3 separate regions of the Homo sapiens genome follow, and regions 1 and 2 are each linked to region 3. Evidence: promoter capture Hi-C in 16 types of primary human blood cells and fetal thymus (Javierre and others, 2016). All regions are on one chromosome and are shown on one strand. Each heading gives the region's core, a stretch centred on a gene start or on the middle of the fragment in contact. The rest is flanking DNA. Distances are from core to core; before and after follow the strand shown.

Region 1 (3,405 bases), core at 730-3,229, 460 kb after region 3:
ATGAGTATCTGGCAAAGGGGAATAGGATAGCAATGGTTGGCCTACACAAGTCATGATCCATTCTTGACAGCTGGGCACATTACAATTCCCGAAGAAAAAAGTCAGCCAGGCATGGTGGCTCATGCCTGTAATCCCAGCACTTAGGGAAGCCAAGGGGGGAGGATCATTTGAGCTCAGGAGTTTGAGACCAGCCTGGGCAATATAATGAGACCCTGTCTCTACAGAGAAAAAAATACAAAAATTAGTCAGGAGTGATGGCACTCGCCTGTAGTCCCAGCTACTCTGGAGGCTGAGGTGGGAGGATTACCTGAGCCCAGGAGGAGGAGGCTGCAGTGAGCTGTGATCATGCCACTGCACTACAATCTGGGTAACAAGAGTGAGACCCTCGCTCAAAAAAAAAAAAAAGGCTCTGAGAGGCAGAGAGAAGAGAGGCCAGTTAAGAACCTCGGGACTCAAGGAATGACATATTGTTGAGTTCTCTGGGTTTTCTTTTTGCCTGATATAGCCTAGACTTGGAGCTGGAGAAGCCAGCAACCCAGAAATGCCAAGAGGTGCAGATAAATATGCTCTTCCAAAAGTGTTCTCTGTAGCTAAGGGAGCAGGCAGAGGCAGCCTAGCAAGACAGAAAACTTTTAAATGATAATAACTCTTCTCCAGGAAATGCCACAGGGGAGGAAAAAAAAAAAAAAACTGAATGCACCCACAGCCATGCAGCAAAGCTGAGTGAATAGTCTAGAATTCCACACTCCCTAGGCTGTAATGAGATGTCTAGAAGTGGTGTCAGAGAAGGGCAGGTAGGGAACTGGGCCTTTTATCTCCACAAGTCAGTAGCAAGGTCTCCCTCTCTGCTGGGTGGGGTCATAGTAGGTCTAGTGGAAAGTTAGGATTTTTATGGCCTCCCAGCAGTCATGAGAAGAAACCCCCCCATCCCCCAACTTCCTATCCCCCCAACCCTCTATTCTCCTATCTCCCCACCCCACCCCTGGTCCATGATGTCAGTAAAAGCCATGTGGGAAGCAGTATGGAGCCATTCCTGCCCTTTCTAGGAAGGTATCCATGGAGGCCTAGTGGGGAGCAAGAAATCCCCCTCTCGCCCAGAAGTAATGGAGATCCCCCAATTTTGGTATCCATGCATAATTATCTGTTGGGTTCTTCCTGTGCACTACACAAACAAAACCAGTTCACTGAGACTGTGATATTGCAGTAAAGAAATTGCAGTAAAGAAAGGGTTTAATTAATGTGAGGCCGGCCACGTGGGAGAACTGGAGTTATCACTCAAATCATTCTCTCCAAAGGCTCGGAGGTTAGGGTTTTTCAAGGATAGATTGGTGGGTGGGGGATTAGGGAATGGGTCCTGTTGATGGATTGGAAATGCAATCACAGGTGTGCGGAAAATGGCCCTCGTGCACTGAGTCTGCCTCTGGGTGGAGGTCACGGGACTGATTGAATCATGAGTCATGGGTTCAGTGGGAGTCAATCCATTCTTTACTCAGAATGTAAAAGCCTGAAAAACATCTCAAAAGATCAATCTTGGCCAGATGCAGTGGCTCATGCCTGTAATTCCAGCATTTTGGAAGGCTGAGGCAGGCTGATCACTTGAGGCTGGGAGTTCAAGACCTTCCTGACCAACATGGTGAAACCCCATCTCTACTAAAAACAAAAACAAAAACAAAAAATAGCTGGGTGCAGTGGCACATGCCTATTGTCCCAGCTACTTGGGAGGCTGAAGCATGAGAATTGCTTGAGCTTGGGAGGCAGAGGTTGCAGTGAGCCAAGATTGCACCACTGCACTCCAGCCTGGGTGACGCAGTGAGACTCTGTCCCAAAAGAAAAAAAAAAAGATCAACCTTAGATTGATTCTACAAATAGTGTTGTCATCTACAGGAGCAATTAGCAAAGTCTCAAATCTCGTGACCTCTGGTTACATGATACCAGAGCAGTAAAAGGATTATAAAAACTATATCTACATTTTAAAATTTATGCCCCTTCCATAATCCTAATCTTGTGGTCTTTTATTAATCTTACAAAGACAGTTTCAGCCCCTGCACAAGGAAAGGATCCATTTCAAGGTAAGACTATTCCCATCCTTGCTTCAAGGTTAAACTGTAAATTAAACTCCTCCCATGGTTAGCTTGGCCTATGCCCAGGAATGGGCAAAGACATCCAGGCTGTGAGGATGGAGTCAGCCACATTAGACTTCTCTCGCTGTCTCATTGTCATAATCTATGCAAACTGAACATGCAACTACTATATAACCTAGCAATTGCACTCTTGAATATTCATCCCAGAGAAATAAAAATTTATATTCATACAAAAACCTCTACATGAATGTTTATCACAGCTCTACTCTTAATAAGCAACCATTGGAAACAACTTGTGATATTGTAAAATTATATTTGGTTTTGGACCTCATTTCCTGGCATACAACTCTTAAAATCCTTAGAATACTTAGAGTACAGTGGCACGATCTCAGCTCACTGCCACCTCTACCTCCTGGATCAAACGATTCCCGTGCCTCAGCCTTCCAAGTAGCTGAGTTTACAGGCGCCCACCACCACGCCCGGGTAATTTTTGCATTTTTAGTAGAGACAGGGTTTTGCCATGTTGGCCAGGCTGGTCCTGGCCTCAAGTGATCCACCCACCTCACCATCCCAAAGTGCTGGGATTACAGACATGAGCCACCGCACCCGGCCTATGTCTTTAGTTTTAAATACTACAGTGAAAGAGCACGTTTGGGTTGACCCACAGCTCACTACAAAATAATCACAAATGGTTATATGGGAGGCAGACACACAGGTGGTTATTCCCAAGAGAACAGCCAGCCTGGTGGACTGGATAAAAGCCACTATAGGCTGGATATTGTGCCTCATGCCTGTACTCCCAGCACTTCGGGAGGCAGAGGTGGGTGGATTGCTTGAGATCAGGAGTTTGAGACCAGCCTGGGCAACGTGGCCAGACTCCATCCCTTCCAAAAGAAAAAGAAAATTAACCAGGCATGGTAGTGTGCACCTGAAGTCCAAGCTATTTGGGAGGCTGAAGTGCAAGGATCACTTGAGCCTAGGAGGCGGAGGTTACAGTATGCCAAGATCACGCCACTGCAACCAGCTTTGGTGACAGAGTGAGACCCTATCTCAAAAAGAAAAAAAAAAGCCACTGTAAGATCTGTTCTCCCTGAGAAGGGGGACTCTGTCTCCTCCTATAAATATCCAGTAGTGCATCTCGGAAGAAGCAGCTGATGTGTTTCATATGCAAGTCATGTGGGCCTGGCTTTATGAGAATCGCGATATTCACCAGCTGAATGTGCTCATTGCCAAGGTCATAGTAAATGCTGTGGTTAAGGGCACCCCTGTAATGTGGATGCCCCGTATAACCTTGCTGCTGCAAAATCAAAAGGTAGTTCAAGAA
Region 2 (3,746 bases), core at 243-2,742, 490 kb after region 3:
GAAGTTCTAATTGGTGGGTTTAGACTAAGCAGGCAGGAGCTCTGCAAAGCCACACTGTGACTAAGAGGTGGTCACTGTAGCATATCTGTGCAACCTATGCAAGGTGTAGGGGCCAGAGGGGTGAGTCAATTAGGTGGGGTGAGACAAGTAGGTTGTATCTACACCAGGAGGAGATATAAGGCAGGTGTCTGGATCAGCCACATTGAGGAACTGGGAAGAGGTGAAGAACTGTGTCAAGGTTGACTGGGCCCTGCGTCTGATATGAGAAAGTCTAACTTATATTCAAAATGGGTACCAAGGCAACATAAAACTATGGAAATTCACCACACAACCATTGGATCTCTATCACATGCAGACAAGTCTATATTCAAAATCATATGCAGACTTGCAGGTCCTGTCTCTGGAAATTATAATGTAGAAGATCTATAGTGACGCCCAAGTATCAGTATTTTTGTAAGTTTCCCAGGTAATTTATTTTGATGTTCAAAATAATTACTTTGGGGAACTATTGAGCTGCAAATGGCTCAATAAAGCACTACCAGAAAATTATTATTGAATAATAAGCAGGAACTAATCAGGCAAAGGTTGGGGTGAAAGATAGTCCAACCAAAGAGAAAAGCCAAAGTCAGTGAGAAACAGCAGAGCATAGAAAGGAAGAACCTCAAACAGCTGGCATTCCTAGAACATGAAATGACACGCACGTGGGAGTCAGAGATGAAACTGGAAAGACCGCATACGTCATCTGCATTGCAGAGGACCTGGAAGCTATAAAAATACTTAGATTTGATCAATTGTGCAAAACTGTTTAAGAATTTTTTTTGAGATGGAGTACAATGGTGTGATCTCAGCTCACTGCAACCTCCACCTCCCGGGTTCAAGCGATTCTCCTGCCTCGGCCTCCCGAGTAAATAGGATTACAGGCACCCGCCGCCACGCCCAGATAATTTTTGTATTTTTAGTAGAGACGGAGTTTCACTATGTTGGTCAGGCTGGTCTCAAATTCCTGACCTCAGGTGATCCACACACCTTGGCCTCCCAAAGTACTATTTAAGAATTTAAAGGAGATTAGGAAGGTTGAGGCAGGAGGATTACTTGAGACCAGGGAGTCGAGACCAACCCGAGCAACACAACAAGACCCTATCTCTAAAAAAAAAAAAAAAAAGAAAACTTAACCCCAGTATGATGACACACACCTGTAGTCCCAGATACTCAGGAGGCTGAGGTGGGAAGATTATTTGAGCCCAGGAGGTTGAGGCTGCAGTGAGCTGTATTGTGCCACTGCACTCCAGCCTGGCAGCAAAGTAAGACCCTGTCTCTAAAAAAAAGAGTTTAAAGAAGAGAAGTGACCCAGACTGACTTGTTTTGACTTAAAAATGTAACATCTTAGAACATAACCCCTCAAAATACTTTTCTTTATATGTTTATATGCATGTTTGCAAATTAGTTTATGCTATTTATATTGTTTTCTTAATGATAATATTCATCTATGACATCGTTTTAAATGGCTGAATACCATTTCATTTTATGAATATATCATTTTATTTTAACCAATCCTATTGTGGTAGGTTTATTTAATTTTATTTAACTTAGCAAAACTGGAACTATATTTCCAAGAAATCCCTTCTCTATGGTCTATGTTATTGTTGGCCATGAGAAAAACATATGCAAGATTTGACAGACTGGCCGGATGCAGTGGCTCACGCCTGTAATCCCAACACTTTGGAAGGCTGAGGCTGGAGAATCGCTTGAGCCCAGGAGTTCGAGACCAGCCTGGGCAACATAACGAGATCCCCCATCTCTACAAAAAAAATAAGAAAATAAATATAAATAAATAAATAAGCCAGGCATGGTGACATGGGCCTGTGGTCCCTGTTACTCGGGAGGCTGAGGCAGGAGGATAACCTGAGTCTAGAGGTTTGAGGCTGCTGTGAGCTATGATTACACCACTTAACTCCAGCCTGAGTGACAGAGTGAGATTCTGTCGCTTAAAAAAAAAAAAAGATTTGGCAGACAGGACTGAAGGTGCAGCAATTGCTATGCTCTGAGCACAGGTGCATGGCATTCTTGCCACTTACACAATTTGCAGCTAGCCTGATGCTTCACCTGTGGGTGTGAGGCATCAGCCAGGCCTGTGGTACCTCCAGCTCCTCCAGGTCTCCTTCAGCTTCTCCAAACCCTACACCAGGTGCCTGTCATGGGCACTGGCTCCTCCTGCCAGTCACTCACATCATCAAGATTGGAGGTGGCAACAGACTCAGGTTCCACGTTGTCCTTGTAGGTTCCTGTTGGTCTTTGCATCCCCTACTTCATGTACATTTTTTCCTGTCCAGCTGCTGGCCCTGATGACTTCAGATGCAACATCAGATTCAGAAGAGCCACCGCCCACATTGACTGATAACTTGCCCCCACAGTTGCATGAGGACTAATCCCCACATGTAATAAGTCTCTCATTGCATGTCAGCCATGGTGGTTCTGCTCCTCTGATCAAACTCCAATTGAATGCTAATGCAATGTGTTAGTTGGGTTCTCTGCGGTAGTATCAGGTTTATTTGGGAGTAACATCCATGAAAGATAAAATGGTGAAGAAGGAGGATTGGCCAGGGAGAATATCAGATCGAGATGCAGATCTGGAAAATGTTCATCCAACCCAGTGGGGAGTTCTGGAGCAAAGATTTCCCACCAAAGGAATCCCACAGTGAGCTATAATCACTAGTCCCAGTACCTTGCTCAGTCCTTCGCTGGGGCTGCCTGAGAACAGCACAACCTCAGCTTAACAGGTGAGGCAGAGGCCAGGTTCAGTGGCTCACACCTGCAATCCCAGCACTTTGGGAGTCCGAGGTGGGAAGGTCACTTGAGCCCAGGAGTTCAACACCAGCCAGGGCAACATAGTGAGACGTCATCTCTACTAAAAATAAAAAAGTAAATTATCTGAGTGTAGTGGTGCACACCTGTAGTCCCAGCTACTCAGGAGGCTGAGGTGGGAGGATCACTTGAGCCCAGAAGGTCAAAGCTGCATTGAGCCTGGGTGACAGAGCAAGGCCCATGCCTCAAAAATAGAAAAATAAAAATAGCTGGAATCTGTCAGCTCCCAGCATTCCTCACAGCCGAAGGGCAAGTTCCTTCTTGAAGGGAGACCAGAACAGCACACCCTAGAGCTGCCCCACCCATATTGGCGCACAGTTGGATGACTCTGATGATCCACTTTGTTTGTTATAAACAAGACCTAAGTGAACAATCTGGTAGGTCATATCTTTTTGCACATCCTTAATTATTTGCTTAGGATACATGCCTAGAAATGAGGATCTGGGACAAATAATCTCCCCATTTTTAGGGCTTTTGATATATAAAACTAGACTGGGCCTCAGAAGAGTTGTGATTTTAATCAAATTTTAATCAACATTGAGGTTGAATGTTTTCATATGCATTTAGACATTTATATTTCTTTCTTTCTTTTTTTTTTTTTTTGACATAGAGTCTCGCTCTGTTGTCCAGGCTGGAGTGCAGTGGCACGATCTCGGCTCACTGCAACCTCTGTCTCCTGGGTTCAAGCAATTCTCCTGCCTCAGCTTCCCAAGTAGCTGGGATTACAGGTGCCCATCACCATGCCCAGCTAATTTTTGTATTTTTCAGTAGAGACAGGGTTTTTCCATGTTGGCCAGGCTGGTCTTGAACTCCTGACCTCAGGTGATCCACCTGCCTTGGTCTCCCAAAGTGCTGGGATTACAGGCTTGAGCCACCACACCCAG
Region 3 (3,839 bases), core at 127-2,626:
TAGGGGTTTGGGAATGATTTAGGAATGAAGACAGGTGGATACAAAATACCAAGACTTCAGTTTTGTTGTGATCCAAACTAATAAAACATGTATCAATAAGGATTTTTTCTTAAAATGTGTGCATAGGGTGTGGGTGGGAGTAGGGGTTTACATATGTTACCCTGTTACTGATTGGCAGTGGAAGTTCATGACAATATCTAGTTAGAGCAAACTCAGGAGAAACTGATAAGTCTATGTTGAGAAATAATGAAATAGCTCAGAATGTGCCAGACCGGGTCAGGATCTCTCTCTCTCTCTCTCTCTCTCTCTCTCTCTCTCTCTCTCTCTCTCTCTCTCTCTCTCCCCCCTCACTTCTTTCCTCTTGTCCCTTCTCCTCCCTTCCCTCCCCCTCCCTTCGAAATCCAATTTAAGCAGGGTTAAAGACCCCATCTCAAGCCAGAGATCCAAGCAGTTGACAATATGCCTAGGGATTTTGGATTTGAAGACTTTTCTAAACTGCAGAAGCTGCCTAGAGTGTGACAAAAATCTCATCTCATGAAGCTTATACTAAAAACAATCAACAAGACCCAACCCCTTTAACCCACATGGCGTCAGTCTTGCTGTTAACAGAGTCTGGGCACCTGCACATTCTCAGCAATAATTTGAACTTCTCTTCTTTCCTTATCACCATTTCCATCTCCTCCAAACACCCACCAGAATATCAGAACTGGATTATTCAGAGCTATTGAGAGGAAATTGTAAATACCTTCTAGGCAGCAGGTCCTCCACAGCCCCGAATGGGTCATTACTTCTTCATTCTTCCTGCTGGTTTCATTATCACTTGTAGATTTAGTCCTGCACACACCTCTGGAATATAACCAGTAGTCCGTGCCCACTGCAATGGTCATTAAACTAAAAGCGGCAAAGGCTCCTACAGTGGTGATCAACATCTGGATACCTCTGTCACACATCCTCATAATTCTTCATGGTACTCTGGACGGCTGGGGGTTGGAGGGGGAGAGTCAGTGCCGGAGGGGAAAATCACTCTGCAGCCGGGTAACCTAGTACAGGCTCTTCCAAAAATTCAGGTCTCCTTTTGTCAGCATCCACAGGGACTTTGGGAAAGCTGGGATTTCCTTTCTGGAGCTCTCTCCAGTTCCCTGGGTCGCCTATGGCCCTCGGAAGGGTGCAGGCTCCGGGGGGTTGGTCCGCATCACTGCTGCCTTCTGAGGGTCCCTGGGTTCCTTTCATTCCTCAGGAGCGTGGTAAAGACGAGGGTCCGTGCAGGGCATGGCTCCGGAGCCTGGAGCTGCCAGCTCGGTTTGAGATGCGCCTGGCTTCTCACAGCCCCGGGAGACTCAAGGCAAAGAAACCCAGAGAGGTCTCTGTGTGAGTGTGTGTGTGTGTGTGTGTGCGTGCGTGCGTGTGTGTGCGAGCGCGTGTGCTGGGGGTGAGGGCGGATGGCAAAAAATAGCACTGCTGGGAGGCGAGCCGCTGAGAAGAGTGTTCACTGCTTCCACAGCCTCGCAGGAAAGCTCTCCGCCTGCTCCCGACACCCCCGCTCAAACTGGAGAAAAGACAGAGTCCTGGGGCGGGGGCCGGCTGGTTTCCCTGGGGGCGCCAAGGTCCGTGGTGCTGAAGGGACAGCTCCCCGCCTGTTGCCCCGCCTCCGTCGTCTTAACGCCTAGGCTTTAAGGTCCGTGGTGCCGAAGGGACAGCTCCCTCATGCAGCTGCACACCGCCGCCCGGGCTAGAAACCCGGGGTGCTAAAGGGTCTTTCTTCCCTCACCCCGCCCTTCCCCCGTTCCTTCCCGGGTCAGCCAGCCGGCTCGGCTCTGCCCAGTCAAGCCCACTCTCCGCGCAAAGTTTCTGGAGCCGAGGACAGTCAGCGCCCTGGCTCCTGGGCGCTGCAGCACGACCCGGTTCCTCCGCTCTAGGAAGGGTTAAGGAAAGGGGAAGGGGAGCGAAGCCCGTAGCGCACTCTGGCGCTCCCTCAGCACCCACCCAACGCGGCATTCTTCAATCCTCCCTTTCACCCCATGAGCCAGGCAAGTTTGCCTTTTGCTGCGGGCACCACTGGAGCCCATTGGGGAAAAAGAAGACCCGAAAGACCGAGTCTTCTTAAAGGCACCGGCAGCTCTGGAGACGGCTCTATGGCTCGCTTAGGCGGGCAAAAAGTGTTGTCACAATCACATCTGTGTAGAGTCTGTCTCAATTTGGTTCCCCAGCAAACAAACCAATATGTCTACCCTCCTTTCTCTGGAGCTCTGGTTTACACCGAAGACAACCCGCTCAGATCAGACCCGGAACTGTTCATATATACATGATCATGTATTCCTAAAAGATGGAAGAAGCTAAATATACATAGACTCTGTCATACACATATTAGGGACCTTGGGCAAAAGACTATAAGATTTTGGCCTTTGAATATGCCTTTTATACATTTTAACATATCTACATCGAAGGGGGTGATGGATTCATGGTGGGAGAGTCACTGAAAATGTCAGATTTTGTTCAAAGGTCTCTGAGATATCATTTGTTAACATTGTTATCTAAGTGAGACCATGAAGCAGGTGAAGTTAGGTCTGCTTTGCTTGTTAGTCCAAAGGGCAAATGGCATTGCACACCTGAAAGCTCTCTTCCTTGGAAATAGCCAGTATTGCAAAGGACCAGCATTTAACCAGCTTTTTATTACTATGTATTCCGGCATATGCATGGGCACACACCGAGTTGACTAGAAACAGCCCACAGAAATGCCCTTATTATTTTTTTTCTTATGGCATCCTGGGACTGATATCCAGAGGTCAGATAGTTGGAAATGAGGTTGCTTGGGTTGTTTCCACAGTTCCTGAGATGTGTCCGCAACCAACTGTCATGTTTGAATGTTATTTAGCTGGACAGAAATATAACGGGAGGTAATCGCAGACAAACATACTCCCCTGGTGCCATCTCTGGCTGCCTGGGAACTTCTATTCAGGTGACTGGGTAGCAGGAATATATTGAAGGGTTCGCAAATGCAGCTCACAACTTCTTGGTGACTTTGCTACTTTCATTTTGGTGTTAAGACTGAAGACTTTATTCTTGGTGTTAGATAAATACTCATGTGCAGGAGGAAGTTTGAATATATAGCTGTGGAGTGATTGTGTTTGAATGCTCACCTGTGCTATGTTCAGTTTAGTTATAAATTCTGAATGCCTGTGAATCCGTCATAGAAGTAAAGCAAGTATGTAAATGTATGTTTGTACCTGCAGACAGTGTTATGGACCATGTGAACATATTTGCTGCAAATGCCTAGCATTTTTGCTATGCATATGCATACATATTTGCACATGTATGTGTATGCATGCACGTGTGTAGGTATAGTATAGATTTGAATATGTAGGTGTGTATACCTATGAGCATTTAGTTGCATATGCATGTGTCGTGGTTCAAAAACACTGATTTATGGACAGGAGGTAGAAATACTGAAATCTTGCCACATAATCCACAATGGAATGGATAAACTTGGGGCCAGCACCACAGCCGTACTCCAGAAGAATGACAGAAGATAGTAGGGAGAGGATACACGAGGGCCCCTACAAGTTTCTTAGTGTCATTTTCTTTCCTGAAATGAAAATTTGCATCTTAATAAAAATATCCTGCCTTGATTGTTATTACCTTTCTTTTTTAAGGGAAAGCCATATGTAACATGGAGGTGAGGTTGGTATTTCTTGGGAGGGATTAATTCAGTTAGCAAAAATTTCTCTCCCCACTCTCAGAAAGGTAAATAAGATGAAATAATTACTAATGATCAAAGCAGTCATTTCAGGATCTGTTTGATTCTTCTCTTGCTTGGATAGAAGTGAGAAAGGTCTTCTTTC

Evidence for each region. Contacts are between HindIII fragments. The CHiCAGO score rates a contact against its expected background, and 5 or more counts as called.
Region 1: a contact is called between a fragment that was not itself captured here and the fragment with the promoter of CACNG3 in region 3, in 7 of 17 cell types (naive CD8 T cells, total CD8 T cells, total CD4 T cells and 4 more). The highest score is 7.7, in naive CD8 T cells.
Region 2: a contact is called between a fragment that was not itself captured here and the fragment with the promoter of CACNG3 in region 3, in 4 of 17 cell types (total CD8 T cells, naive CD8 T cells, naive B cells and 1 more). The highest score is 7.6, in total CD8 T cells.

Annotation. Positions count from the first base shown.
Region 1 is chr16:23,793,594-23,796,998 of GRCh38, reverse strand. No RefSeq gene overlaps it. Among named protein-coding and RNA genes, the nearest start is that of CHP2, 40 kb to the right of the region's middle. The HindIII fragment of the contact is 8,748 bases long and covers 1-3,405 here.
Region 2 is chr16:23,768,188-23,771,933 of GRCh38, reverse strand. No RefSeq gene overlaps it. Among named protein-coding and RNA genes, the nearest start is that of CHP2, 15 kb to the right of the region's middle. The HindIII fragment of the contact is 4,988 bases long and covers 1-3,746 here.
Region 3 is chr16:24,253,872-24,257,710 of GRCh38, reverse strand. It overlaps CACNG3 (calcium voltage-gated channel auxiliary subunit gamma 3), which reads right to left and starts at 1,376. Exons shown (of 4, transcript NM_006539.4): 1 at 746-1,376. The coding sequence starts at 956. RefSeq lists an enhancer at 901-1,628. The HindIII fragment of the contact is 7,529 bases long and covers 543-3,839 here.